2 separate regions of the Homo sapiens genome follow, and region 2 is linked to region 1. Evidence: promoter capture Hi-C in 16 types of primary human blood cells and fetal thymus (Javierre and others, 2016). All regions are on one chromosome and are shown on one strand. The core of a region is centred on a gene start or on the middle of the fragment in contact, and the rest is flanking DNA. Distances in the headings are between cores, read along the strand shown. Region 1 holds the start of ENDOG (endonuclease G). Region 2 holds the start of DOLPP1 (dolichyldiphosphatase 1).

Evidence for each region. The method cuts DNA at HindIII sites, captures the fragments that hold promoters and counts their contacts. A CHiCAGO score of 5 or more calls a contact.
Region 2: a contact is called between the fragment with the promoter of DOLPP1 here and the fragment with the promoter of ENDOG in region 1, in 3 of 17 cell types (endothelial precursors, fetal thymus and M0 macrophages). The highest score is 7.7, in endothelial precursors.

Annotation. Positions count from the first base shown.
Region 1 is chr9:128,813,385-128,820,618 of GRCh38, reverse strand. ENDOG (endonuclease G) reads right to left here and starts at 2,119. Exons shown (of 3, transcript NM_004435.2): 1 at 1,434-2,119. The coding sequence starts at 1,934. KYAT1-SPOUT1 (KYAT1-SPOUT1 readthrough) reads left to right here. Exons shown (of 25, transcript NR_182311.1): 25 at 1-968. It overlaps SPOUT1 (SPOUT domain containing methyltransferase 1), which reads left to right. Exons shown (of 12, transcript NM_016390.4): 12 at 1-968. RefSeq lists enhancers at 1,116-1,205, 1,156-1,721 and a silencer at 1,826-1,885. The HindIII fragment of the contact is 1,677 bases long and covers 656-2,332 here.
Region 2 is chr9:129,077,972-129,085,205 of GRCh38, reverse strand. It overlaps DOLPP1 (dolichyldiphosphatase 1), which reads right to left and starts at 4,095. Exons shown (of 8, transcript NM_020438.5): 1 at 3,999-4,095; 2 at 438-538; 3 at 99-183. The coding sequence starts at 4,074. RefSeq lists a silencer at 3,668-4,397. The HindIII fragment of the contact is 2,856 bases long and covers 1,912-4,767 here.

The DNA.
Region 1 (7,234 bases), core at 870-3,369:
GGAAACTGAGGCTCAAGGAATGAAAGTCACTCCCTGAAACCCAGGGCTGATAGAGTGCTAGCCACCACCCTCTGTCCCTCCCACAGCCCAGGTGTCAAAGTCTTTTCTCAGCTCCCAAGAGTCGAATGAAGGAAGAGCCTGTCTCCACCTTTCAGAGAGGACTGAGGCCTGTCCCCAGCCCCACCCAGGGTCTCCTGGGAAGACCAGCCCTTCCAACTACCAACCCGTTCCTTTTCCCAGTCTGAGCCACAGGAAGAGCCTAGCGGGGAATGCCATGAATCGACCTCCATCCTGAGCTCTCCAGGCCTGGGACAATGGAAAGTGGATAGGGGGCTGTCTTCCCAGAAGGAAGCTGGGTCAGAGGTTGGTGCCCCATGGGCTCCACCCAGAGCCCCATGGCAGTCTCCATCCATTGGTGCCAGGACCTGCTGGGAACAGGCTGAGAGGGTGGTTGGCCCAGTGCACAGTGCCTGGCACTAACAACCTGATCGTGGGCCAGGTGTCTGCCTCGAAACTGCCTGAAGGCAGGCAGGGTAGGACAATGTCTGGAGGCTCACGGTTTTATAGACTAGGGGTCCCCAACCCCTGGGCTACAGACCGGTACCAGAACCGGGCCACACAGCAGGAGGTGAGCAGCAGGCGAGCAAGGGAAGCTTCATCTGTATTTACAGCCACCCCCCCATTGATCCCACAGCAGCCTGAGCTCCGCCTCCTGTCAGATCAGTGGCGGCTGGAGATTGTCATAGGAGCTGGAACCCTATGGTGAACTGCGCATGTGAGGAGGTTGCGCGCTTCTTTTGAAAACCTAATGCCTGATCTGTCGTTGTTGCCCATCACCTCCAGATAGGACTGTCTAGTTGCAGGAAAACAAGCTCAGGGCTCCCACGGATCCTACATTACTGTGAGTTGTATATTTCACTATATGTTACAATGTAATAATAATAGAAATAAAATGTACATAAATGTAACGCACTTGAATTATCCTGAAACCCGCCCTCACCCACCAAGCCGTGGAAAAACTGTCTTCCACGAAACCGCACCCTGGTGCCCAATAGGTTGGGCGCTGCGGTTCTACAACAGACAGCCTTCTTCTGCTGTGTGACACTGTGCCCGTCACTTTGCCTCTGTGAGCCTCAGCGCCTCATCACTACCGCAGGAGGAAGGTGAATAACGGTATTATCCCCATTTTTTTGACGAGGAAAGCGACGCTCAGGGAGGTGCCCAGGGTTCGCAGTTGAAGCTCAAGCCCTGGTCGGCCTGCAGACCCTGTGCCTGGAGCCCAGTGCTCCTCCCTCCCGCCACGGGATGTCACTGCGATGCCTGACCGGGGGCGCGTTGGGCAGCTGCCCCGTTCTGCAGAAGAACAAACCGAGGCCCCGCGAGGCCAGGCGCCGGCCCCGCATTCCGCGACCGGCCCGGGGCGCGGGCGCTACCTGGGGCGCGACGTTGCTCAGGTAGAACGTGTCGTCCATGGCCTTCTGGCTCCAGCGGTGGTTGGCGGCGGCGGCCAGGTGACCGCGGTCGAAGCCACTGCCGCGGTAGTCGGCGTTGGTGGCACGGTGGTACGCGTGCACCGAGTCGTCCTCGCGGAAGTCGCACTCGCGCCGGTCGCCGTCGCCGCGGAGACGCTCGGGTCGCAGCTGCTCCACCACCCAGAGCGCGCCGCGGGTGCGCGGGTCGTAGCACAGCACGTACGACTCGCGGCTCTTGAGCTGCGCCAGCCCCGGCAGCCCGTACTTGGCCAGCTCGCCCGGGCCGCGGGGTCCCCCGGGCACAGGGGGCAACTCGGCTGCCGCCGCCACGGGCAGCACGGGCAGCCGGCCCAGCAGTCCCGGCGCCGCCCGCGCGTCCTCCCGCCGCCGCCGCCAGCCCTCGACGACCGCACCCAGCCCCGCGCCCGACGCCAGGGTCAGGCCGGCCCGCAGCGCCCGCATGGCCGGGGAGCGACCTAGCGGCGGGCGACCCGCGAGGCTCTTAAAGGAGCCGCGTCGCGGGATCCAACGAGGGCACAGGGCTGCTGGGGCCGCGGACGATAGCGTGACCTCCCTTCCACTCACAAACACTGCCAAGGGCTTGGGCCTCGGAACCCAGAAGGGAGCAGCAGAGCCCAACCGGGTGTCCCCGGCGTCCTTTCTTTGCGCATTTAAGACGCCGGTATGAGGGGCGTGGCATCGTCGCCTCAGCTCGCGATTGGCCACCATCAGGCCTGGCTCCGCACCCGCCTCGCAGGCCCCCTGCTGGTCGTGGGGTGGGAGACACTCTCTCCTCTGCGCCTGCGCAGGGAGCTCCTGCTTAATACGCTCCGCGGAAGGGTCAAGCACTGTCGAAAGCTTTTACTGTCACTGCTTAGTCTCACCCTCTACACCGCTCGGAGAGTGAGCTCCTAGTTCGCAGAGCAGGCACAGGGCCCCAGGTATATCTGGCCCTAGGCTATCCTCCATGACACCATAAAATAAGCCCCGCAATTCTACCAGATTGGCAAAGGTTTCTTTTTTTTTTTTTTTTTTTTTGAGACGGAGTTTCGCTCTGGTCGCCCAGACTCGAGTGCAATGGCGTGATCTCGGCTCACTGCAACCTCCGCCTCACAGGTTCAAGCGATTCTCCTGCTTCAGCCTCCCAAGTAGCTGGGATTACAGGCATGCGCCACCACGCCCGGCTAATTTTGTATCTTTAGTAGAGACAGGGTTTCTCCATGTTGGTCAGGCTGGTCTCAAACTCCCGACCTCAGGCGATCCGCCGGCCTCGGCCTCCCAAAGTGTTGGCATTACAGGCGTGAGCCACCGCGCCCGGCCCAGATTGGCAAAGATTTTAATTAACAGCAGTTTGAGGACAAGGATGCAGACGGCTGATGCTGGCTGCTGGCTGGAACAGAAACCTGGGGCGAATATTCCAAAAAACAGCTTGACAGTACAGTACAAGCGAAGCCTTAAAAAGGTTCATACCGTTCAACCCACGCAGAGGGCTGAGCTGGGGAAATCTCGGGAATGCAAGGATCTCGAACGCAAATATTCACCAGAGTATTACACTGCCGGCAGGAATAAGCAAAATATTCAGAAATATGGACTGGTTAAGGACTTTTATTTTTTGAGACGGAGTCTCACTCTATTGCCCAGGCTGGAGTGCAATGGCGTGATCTCCGCGCAGTGGAACCTCTGCCTCCCAGGTTCAAGTGATTCTCCTGCCTCAGCCTCTGAAGTAGCTGGGATTACAGGCGCGCACCACCAGGCCCAGCTAATTTTTTTTTTTTTTTGAGACGGAGTCTCGCTCTGTCGCCCAGGCTCACTGCAACCTCCGCCTCCTTGGTTCAAGCGATTCTCGTGCCTCGGCCTCCTGAGTAGCTGGGACTACAGGCGCGCGCCACCACGCCCAGCTAATTTTTGTACTTTTAGTAAAGAATGGGTTTCACCATGTTGGCCAGGCTGGTCTCGAACTAACTCCTGACCTTGTGATCCACCCACCTTGGCCTCCCAAAGTGCTGGGGTTATAGACATGGGCCACCCAACCCAGCCACTCTTAGCATTTTTTTTTCCTTTAAGGAAAATAAGGTCTTGTGCTGTCACCCACACGGAGTGCAGTGGCAAGATCACAGTTCACTGCAGCCTTGACCTCCTGGGCTCAAGCCATCCTCCTGCCTCACCCTCCCGAGTAGCTAGGACCACAGACACATATCATGATGCCTGGCTAACTTTTAAATTTTTTATAGAGATGGGGCCTCGCTATGTTGTCCAGGCTGGTCTTGAACTCCTGGCCTCCAGTGATCCTCCTGCCTTGGCCTCCCAAAGTTACAGGCATGAGCCACTAAGCCCTCCTGAGGTCAGTAGTTTGAGACCAGCCTGGCCAACATGGCGAAACCCTGTCTCTACTAAAAATACAAAAATTAGCTGGGCATAGTGGACCGTGCCTGTAATCCCACCTACTGGGGGACTGAGGCAAGAGGATTGCTTGAACCTGGAGGGCGGAGGTTGCAGTGAGCCGAGATCATGCCACTGCACTCCAGCCTGGGCAACAGAGTGAGACTCTGCTTCAAAAAAAAATATGGGACAGGGTCTTGCTTTGTTGCCCAGGCTGTTCTTGACCTCCTGGGATCAAGTGATCTGTGGGCCTCAGCCTCCTGAGTAAATGGGACTACAGGCTATGGTGTATCACCATACCCAGCTACTTTCAGCAATTTTGAAATATACATTAACTATAGTGACCATGCTGTAGTTTGTGTTTTTTTTTTTTGGAGACAGAGTTTTGCTCTTGTTGCCCAGGCTGGGGTGCAATGGCGTGATCTCGGCTCACCACAACCTCTGCCTCCCAGGTTCAAGTGATTCTCCTGCCTCAGCCTCCCGAGTAGCTGGGATTACAGGCATGTGTCACCATCCCCAGCTAATTTTTTGTATTTTTAGTAGAGACAGGGTTTCTCCATGCTGGTCAGGCTGGTCTCGAACTCCCGACCTCAGATGATCCACCCACCTCAGTCTCCCAAAGTGCTGGGATTACAGGTGTGAGCCATCGCACCTGGCCATACCATGCTATAGTTCTAAAAAAAAAACATTCCTGGGCCGGGTATGGTGGCTTAGGCCTGTAATCATAGCCCTTTTGGAGGCCAAGGTGGGAGGATTGCTTGAACCAAGGAGTTCAAGACCAGCCTGGGCAACATAGTAAGACCCCCGTCTCAAATTAAAAAAAAAAAAATCCTCCTGTCTAGCTGAAACTGTACCCTTTGACCAACATTTCCCCATTCCCCACCGCCCCAACTCCCACCAATCCCCAGACTCTGGTACCATCATTCTACTCTCCACCTCTATGAGTTGTTTTACATTCCGAATATAAGTGAAACCATGTCGTGTTTGTCTTTCTGTGCCTGGCTTATTTCACCTACCGTAACGTCCTCTAGGTTCTTCCATGTTGTCACAAATGACAGAATCTCCTTTTTTTTTTGAGGGTGAATCTCGCACTGTTGCCTGGGCTGGAGTGCAATGGCACAATCTTGGCTCACTGCAACCTCCCCCTCCCAGGTTGACGCAATTCTCTTGCCTCAGCCTCCTGAGTAGCTGGGATTACAGGTGCACACCACCACGCTCGGCTAATTTTGTTGTATTTTTAGTAGAGATGGGGTTTCACTATGTTGGCCAGACTGGTCTTGAACTCCTGACCTCGTGATCCACCTGCCTCAGCCTCCCAAAGTGCTGGGATTACAGGCGTTAGCCACCACGCCCGGCCTTGTCTTTTTTTTATAAGCCATTCTGACAGGTGTGAGGTGGTATCTCATTTTGGTTTTAATTTGCATTTCCCAGATGATCCATGCATTGTTCAGCATTTTTTCAGATAGTTGCCAGAAATTTTTATGTCTTTTTTTATTTTTTTTTGAGACAGAGTCTGGCTCTGTCACCAGGCTGGAGTGCAGTGGCTCGATCTCGGCTCACTGCAACCTCCGCCTCCTGGGTTCAAGCACACACCACTATGCCCATCTAATTTTTGTATTTTTAGTAGAGACGGGGTTTCACCATGTTGGCCAGGATGGTCTTGATCTCTTCACCTGGCGATTCGCCTGCCTCAGCCTCCCAAAGTGCTGTATGTCTTCTTTTGAGAAATATCTATTCAGGTCCTTTGCGTGTTGTTTAAATCACATTGTTTTCTTGCTATTGAGATTTTTGTTTGTTTCTGTTTTTGTTTTTTAGACAGAGTCCTGCTCTGTCACCCAGGCTGGAGTGCAGTGGCACGATCTCGGCTCACTGCAACCTCCGCCTCTGGGTTCAAGTGATTCTTGTGCCTCAGCCTCCTGGGTAGCTGGGATTACAGGCACCCACCACCACTCCTGGCTAATATTTTTGTAGTTTTAGTAGAGACTGGGTTTCACCATATTGGCCAGGCTGGTCTTGAACTCCGGACCTCAGGTGATCCACCCGCCTCCGCCTCCCAAAGTGCTTGAATTACAGGCATGAGCCACCATGCCCAGCTGCTACTGAGATGTTTTAAGTACTTATATATCTTGGATATTAACCCCTTATCAGATGTATGGTTTGCAAATATAATCATGCATCACATAAAGATATGTAATCCAAGCTACCCTGGGATGCTGAGGCATGAGAATTCCTTGTACCCCGGAGGCTGAGGTTGCAGTGAGCTGAGATCGTGCCACTGCACTCCAGCCTGGGCGACAGAGCGAGACTCTATCTCAAAAAAAAAAACAAACCAAAAAAAGTATGCCAGGCTAGGTGGCTCACACCTGTAATCCCAGCACTTTGGGAGGCCGAGGCAGGTGGATCACAATGTCAGGAGTTCAAGACCAGCCTGGCCAACACGGTGAAACACTGTGTATACTAAAAATACAAAAATTAGCCGGGTGTGGTGGCACACACCTGTATTCCCAGCTACTGGGGAGGCTGAGGCAGGAGAATTGCTTGAACCCGGGAGGCAGAGGTTGCAGTGAGCCGAGGTAGTGTCACTGCACTCAAGCCTGGGTGACAGAGAGAAACTCTTGTCTCAAAAAAAAAAGTAATAATAATAAAAAATAAAGAATGATACACCTGTCTGTATAAAGCGCTTACCATGAATGGAGCTTCTGGGACAGGAAGTTGCTCTGCGTGGGTCACTGAGGAGTGAATGTGAAGGCCCAGAACAAAGTCTACTCTACGCTACTGTAGACTTTATCAACACTATATTTAGGCTACACTAAATTTATTTGAAATACTTCTTTCTTCAATAATAAACCTTAGCTTACTGTAACTTTTACTTTTTTTTTTTTTTTTAGGCGGAATCTTGCTCTGTTGCCCAGGCTGGAGTGCAGTGGCGCGATCTTGGCTCACTGCAAGCTCCGCCTCCTGGGCTCACGCCATTCTCCTGCCTCAGCCTCCCGAGTAGCTGGGACTACAGGCGCCCGCCACCACACCTGGCTAATTTTTTGTATTTTTAGTAGAGACGGGGTTTCACTGTGTTAGCCAGGATGGTCTCGATCTCCTGAACTCGTGATCTGCACGCCTTGGGCTCCCAAAGTGCTGGGATTACAGGTGTGAGCCACCGCGCCCAGCCACTGTAACTTTTACTTTACGAGTTTTTATTTATTTATTTATTTATTTATTTATTTATTTTGAGACAGAGTCTCACTCTGTTACCCAGGCCAGAGTGCAGTGGCACAATCTCAGCTCACTGCAACCTCCACCTCCCAGGTTCAAGTGATTCTGCTGCCTCAGTCTCCAAGTGAGTAGCTGGGATTACAGGTGCCTGCCACCACGCCTAGCTAATTTTT
Region 2 (7,234 bases), core at 2,846-5,345, 260 kb before region 1:
TGGGAGAGAGAGGAGACCAGGGCATCACGGGGGGATGCAGACCTCCCAGTAACGCCCCAACCTGGGGGAACCTCAGGCCCTCGCAGCTGAGGCCCTACCTCCACAGGGCCGTGGCTCCTGGATGACGTTTTTGATCAGCCAGTTGACCCCCTCGTTCAGTGCCAGGCCCCCAAGGAAGGAGATCTGCTGGGGAAGACGCATGGTCAGCTGGGCCTCTGTGCACCTGTTGGCTGCTACCTAGTCCCAAAGACCATGGCCTCTGACTGAACCTCCCAGCCCAACAGGTGAGTAACCTAGAACCAGCCAGGAGGCTCCACGCACCTCAAGACAGGTGGACGCAGGGATGAGAACCCTGGACTGAGGGGCGGACGGGCTTCCCAAAGCAGGGTGGGGGCACTGGGGGTGGGGTGGGGAGGGTGTGGGCAAGACAGACTCACCGTGTGCAGCTCCCGCTTAAATATGATGAGGGTCACGAAACCGACGATGACAAATACAGGGCTGAGGCTCAGGTAGGCAAGGAGGTGGCCAGAGAGATCACCTGGCAAGACAGAGAACAGAATCAGGAGGACAGGGCACAGGCATCAGAAGAGGGACCAGCCCCCTACAAGTAAGGCCTGATCCAGAAAGGAGGTCCCGGCAGGGCCTGGAGAATGGAGGCCAGGCAGCCAGGGACACCTGTTTACCGGCCGATTGTGCCAACTCAGTCACAGCCATACGTGATGCTGTCTACTACTTAGCACTAAAGTGCACACAGCATGCGTTTAAAGCAGGTGCCTTCACTGTTCCCATTCTATAGATGAAGAAACTGAATTCCAGAGCAACTATGTGACTCGCCCAAGGTCACACAGCCAGAAGGAGGTGGGACCAGGACTAAAGTCCAAGTCTCTGACCTGTTCCAGACACTAGACCAATCCCTCCTGCCAAAGCAGGAAGGTGAACCCGGCCTGGTGACTCCAGAGGTGGAGCCTGGGACCTGGGAGGCAGCCCGGCAGGCACATGAGAGCCACACACTGTTGTGCTGGGGCTGCCCTGGCTGAGCCCTGGGCCTCCAGGGAAATCCGACGTTCTCTGGACACCACACAGACTTGGGTCCACACTGAAGACTCGGACAGAAACCAAGCCCAATAGGGCGACGGTAACAGCTGCGCGCCACTTCTCTGGCAGGAAACTGCCTACCTATTGATTACCAGCTTCTGACACTCCCATCACTCCTGGGATGGAGGCAGCAGAGGAACACTGGCCCCTTTTAGGAGATGGGGACACTCAAGCTGAGAATCCAAGGGCAGGGGAGGCTGAGTCTGAAGGCCACCCTCACCACTTGAGACAGGCAGCTATGTAGCCACTCTGGGGTCTGAGAGCATGGTTCAGCTCCTATGCCCACACTCACTGGCTGCATGAACTGAGGCAAGGATTCAAGCCTCAGCTCACCCACTTGTGGAATAGGGATATCAGTGCCTACCTCCTACAGCTGCATGAGACTCAATGAGATGGGACCTGTGAGACACCCAGCTTGGTCCCTGGCAACCAGGACACTTCCATGTTGGGGCAGAGGTGGAGAGAACCCAGTGTGGGAAATGGTCCATGCCACCAGCCTCACACAAGCAGCAGGGAAGTTGTCCACAGAGGGCTGAGCCCAGATTCCAGGGCTGAAGACATAGACACACACATGCCCGGTCTCATCCACACACAGGATCCTACCCAGCCCATCCTACCCAGGATCAGACTGGCCTGGAGTTGGTCTGGGAGAGCAGAGCAGCCCAGCTAAGTGCCTGGGGTCAAGTGCTGGTGCTGCCACAGTCCCACTGGGTGACAGTGGGTGAGTCCCTTCTCTTTCCTGGGCCTCTCCACTATGAAGCTCACCCTCACAGCACTGGGCTATGAAGATAGTGAGTGACTGGTACCCCCAAAGCTTTAGCCATCTCCATAGCCTGTCCCAGAGCCAGCACTACCCTGGGGTTTTCCTGAAGATGCTACCAGGGACTCTGGCCTCTCTACTCTCTGATCCAAGCCCCCTCAGGCCTCCCACTGCCCTTAGGACAAGTTCCCCCTCAGCCCAGCTCATCTGGCCCTGCACAGTCCTGGCCCTGCTTCCCTCTCAACCTCTGCTCCAGTTCCAAGGACCAAACTCGAGTTCCCTGAGCGCATCGTGCCCTGTCCTACTTCTGGACCTTTGCACACAGTTTCCCCCCACCTGGGACGCTCTCTGGGTGAACTCAACAAACAACTAAGAACCCACCACAGTGGCAAAAAAAAAGACACATATGTCCCTGCTAGTGCAGAGCTTGAGGTCTGACGGGAGAATCTGCCATCCAGACTCAGTTCATGATCCACTAATGTAGATATCAGGACAGCATCTGGGAGTAGAGACAGGGTCTCTTTATATCCCACTCTATCCCCCAAGCCCAGCACAGGGCCTGGCTCTTAACTGGGCTCAAAAACTGTTGAATGAATGAAGTAAGCAAGTGACGGTGTGAAGAGGGGTGTGACGGAGAAGTGCAGGGAACCATGGAAGCATTAATAGGGGACTAGACCTCACCAGATGCTCCAGGCTCAGCCAGGTCCATCACAGCCTGTATCATGCTGCACACAACTGCCTGCCAGGTTCCTTCTGGCTTGTTGGATTGTGAGCACTCCAAGAAGCTACTCTGAGGCCAGGAGGGGAAGCTGTGAAGGTGCAGAGGCCTTAGCAAGTCTTTCCCCACCTCCAGGCTTTGGCTTTCCTCTTATAAAGCAGCTGGTTTTCATAGTGCAGGAATGCAGGGATATTTCAGGCCTGTTAAGCATTCTAAAAACCAGAGCTAGCCCAGGGCCTAGCACTCAGAAGTGTTCAGTGGATATTGACTGAATGAATGAATGGATGAATGAATGGTAGACAGGCAGGCAGGCAGGGCCCAGGACCTGGCAGGGCCATACCACCCCCAGTACAACCCAGAACACCAGCGTCAACGTTCTTTGGCATTCAGTCCTGGTGCCCTCAGCGGACCCAGGTTCTCACATCTCGCAAGACAGCAGCATGAGCAGGCCCTTCCCAGGCAACCAGGGCTCAATGAGGGGCTCCAGCCTTCCCTGGCACTCAACCATCTTACCCAGGGAGGGTCTTGCAAGGTGGGATAACATTAACTGCAGGTATTTACTGAACGCTTACTGCATGCCGGGCACTGTACTCAGCCCTTCTTGTGCCTCCTGCTATTTGATGCTCATACCATCACCAGAAGGTAAGCACTGTAATCAGTCCCACTTTAGAGATGAATTAACTTAAGCAGAGGCAGGCACCTGCACAAGGCCTCAGCCTCAACTGGAGCCCAGATGGGTCTGACCCCCACGCCCAGGCTCTGCGCCACTCTTACTAGACAGCCTCCAGAACGCCGCTAATGGACCTCTCAACTGGAAAGCCCTGCACTTCGAGAGGTGTGTCTGATGGGAAGCAACAGAAGTCAAGTTCCCGGAGGCTGCCCGCCCCCTCATCGGGTCCTCTCTGTTGTGGAATCGTGCCCTGCTCAGGGCGTGGCACCACAAGTACTCAAAAGCCTGGCTTCGGCTTGCACACTCCCAGCAACGGGGAGCTCTTTCTCTTACAAGCAGCCCAAAGCACTGTTCGAAGGAAACAAGACACTCCCTGCACGCTGGAACAGGAGTGCGGCCTCTCTGGGACAGGGGAGGGCGGGGAAGAAGGGCCAAGGTCCAGGCCAGGGATCTTTTCTCGCCTCACACAGATCCTCAACCCATTTCAGCCCACCGGCGCCCCGGGACCCGGGGGAGCGCCCTGGCCGCGCAGCCGCAGAGTGCGCGAGCGAGCGCCTCACAATTTCGCCCAGCTCATCCTCGCACCACTGCGCCTGCGCGGCGCGCGCGCCGGCCGAGCCCCTCCGTGGTTCACTATTTGACAGTTCCCACCCCGGTCCCCCGGCGCCCCCTCCGCGGGCTCGAGCAGGCCGGAGCGCCCGGGACTGAGAGGCCGTCCCTGGGAAGGCGTCCTTGGAGCCGGGACCGCCTTTTACCTGCAGGATATTCGACGTGGGTGAGGGTCACCGGCCGCCATGAAGCGGGGAGCGAGCACTGTCCGTCCGCTGCCATCTTACCCGGAGACCGGGCTTCTTCGAGCAGCCAATGGGGAGCCAGGGGGGCGGTGGTCCTGACCTATCACGCCGGGGAGGCGCCGTGCACCCAATCGGAGGCCAATATAGGTAGCGGCGCAGCCATTCAGCGTGCAGGCCGTGGGGGCTGGCCCGAGCGGCGAATCAGAGAGCGGGGCCCCTGGGAGCCAACGAGCCGCCCCAGCTGGCGCCCAATCTGGGGCGAGCGCAGGTAGGCATCTGGCCAATCAGAGAAGGGGAGGGTTCCAGCACCGAACAGGGAGCATAACAGCCAATCAGAAGGTGAGGCTGCCTCAGCTTGTGGGCAGGGCGGGCCAATCAGGCGCTGGCTTTGGGGGCGTGTTGAACTTTGGTGGGAGCTTTGGTTCGGCTGGGACCTGCGCCCTGAATGAAGGCTTCCCTGGTACCCCCTGCCGATCCGCGGTCTTGGGGACCTGCGCGTCCGATAGCGCGTGCTCGAAGAGGAGAGGCAACCTCAGCTCCAGGGGGTTTGAACCGACCCACTTTCAGTTACGAGTAAACTGAGACCAGAGAGCAGAGGGGGCTTATTTCCCTCTGCCCCATACTGGCCGGCGAAAGGGCAAGTCACACAGAGCAGGCGACCTTTTTGTCAAAAGTGTGTGGGGCGGGGCGCGCAGTAGGCGCCCTAAACGCTGGACTGAACAGAGAAGCTTAATTGATACTTAAGAGTGGAAGCTTAGCTACAGTTAAGGACTCCTTCCTCCTTTCATTCATTTAATAAAGATTTATTGATTCAGTCACGTCTATGCTACTTAATGAGGCGTCTTGGGAGCATTTCAAACAAGAAGTCGGTTTTCCACCTACCCCTCAGTTTTCCCAAGACATTCCTGCGTGAACAGCCACACCTTCCCACCCGCCTTCACCTCTCCTACCCGACTCTGTCTCTGGCTGGATTGGATTACAGTGCAGGTAAGGTGGGCTGGGAGGGCTCAGCCTCTTGTCTCCTGCCGCTAGCATGTGCTGTTTTTGTCTGTTTGTTTGTTTTTTGAGACAGGGTCTTGCTCTGAGGCCCAGGCTGGAGTGCAGTGGAACGATCTTGCTCAGCCTCCTGGGTCCAAGTGATTCTCCTGTCTCAGCCTCCCGAGTAGCTGTGACTACAGGCGCGCACCACCGCATCCGGCTAATTTTTGCATTTTTAGTAGAGACCGGGTCTTACCATGTTGGGCAGGCTGGTCTCGAACTCCTGGCCTCAGGTGATCCACCTGCCTCGGCTCCCAAAATGCTGAGATTACAAGCGTGAGCCGCCATGCCCAGCTAATTTTTTTTTTTTTTTTTTGAGACGGAGTCTCGCTCTGTTGCCCAGGCTGGAGTGCAGTGGCACGCCCGGCTAATTTTCGTACTTTTCGTAGAGACGGGGTTTCACCGTGTTGGTCAGGATGGTCTTGATCTCCTGACCTCGTGATCCGCCCACCTCGGCCTCCCAAAGTGCTGGGATTACAGGTGTGAGCCACCGCCCCTGGCCACCATGTGCTGTTTTGCTGCGTGGGATGTACTGCCTCTCCTGCCCTACTTTGCCCGGCCCAATCTGGTTCAGGTGTCTCCTCGGCTTACAGGTTTCCACAGTCAAGTGAGGGGCCAGTACTGGGCTCTCACGGTTGCATTTCCTGTCCTTTCTCAGCCCTGACCTCACTGGACTGTAATCGGCTCCCTATCCCTCCCAGTCAGCAGCGGCTCTCAGATTCATGGAGTGCTGAGATCAGCCTGTAGAAAACACAGATTCCTGGGTCACAATGGGGCCTGGGTTGATCCAGTAGGTCTGAGTTGGAGCCCAGGTGTCTGCATTCTTATGTGCTCTGGTGGTTCTGATACAGGTGGTTACAGCCACCACTGGAGAAACCCTGGGCAACATGAGGACAGGGCCTGGTACATCCTGAGCCTGGTCCAGACCAGACCTAGAGCAAGTGTCTGATAAGTGACACGAGCGCCCCTGAGGTGAGTTGAGAATTACCCAGGAAATCCCACTGAGAGTGGCTCTTTCTGCGAGTGGCCAGGCCAGTAGAGCGGGGACCGTGAGCTGGCCTGTGTGGCCGGAGATGATGGCGACTCAGAACCCACCAAAGAGCCCAGAAGGCCCACTGCCCTGCTGTGCGCACTCCCAGCCTGGGCTCGTCGGGGTCAGCTGGCCTCGGTTTCCTCAGGCACTGTCATTATTAGCCTCTGAGAAGCAGGAGGTGTGAGGAGCGGGCCGGGAGCTTCTCAGAATAGTTCCCTGGGACAGGACAGCCATCCATGATCTGGGCCACATTGCCGCTCCCAAATAGGCCTTGGGAGCAAAGTCCATGAAATGCAGGCCTGTCAGTGCTGGGAGCCTCCCGAGGGAGGATGAGGATGAGGAACTATGAAATGAGAGGGAGTTACCCAGGGAGGGTTTTCCTGGCAGAGAGAACAGTGTAAGCCAGTGTCCTGGGGCCCGCGTGTGGCTGGATGAAGTGGGCAAGAGGGAAAGAAGGGGTAAGGTGGTGGGGAGGAGGCCCACAGGGGCCTGACCACCCGAAACTTTGAGGGCACTGTTAATGGTGGGGACAGAGGGAAGCTCTGAAGGATGGGTTTGTTGTTGGGTTTGGTTTGGTTTTCTTGTTTAAAATAGAACATTCAGGGCAGGCACCGTGACTAAACCTGTAGTCCCAGCACTTTGAGAGGCCGAGGCGGGAGGATCGCTTGAGCCCAGGAGTTCAGGACTAGCTGGGCAATACAGCAAGACTTCATCTCTACAAACAAATTTTTAAAAATTAGCCAGGCATGGTGGTGCACACCTATGGTCCCAGTTACTCGGGAGGCTGAGATGGGAGGATCACATGAGCTGGGGAGGTAAAGGCTACAGTGAGCTGTGATCCTGCCGCTACACTTCAGCCTGGGCAGCAGAGCAAGACCCTGTCTCAAAAATATGGCTGGGTTGTAATCCCAGCACTTTGGGAGGCCGAGGCAGGTGGATCACCCGAGGTCAGGAGTTCAAGCCCAGCCTGGCCAACATGGTGAAACCCCGTCTCTACTAAAAATACAAAAATTAGCTAGGCATGGTGGCACATGCCTATAATCACAGCTACTTGGGAGGTTGAGGGAGGAGAATTGCTTGAATGTGGAGGTGGAGGTTGCAGTGAGCGGACATCACACCAGCCTGG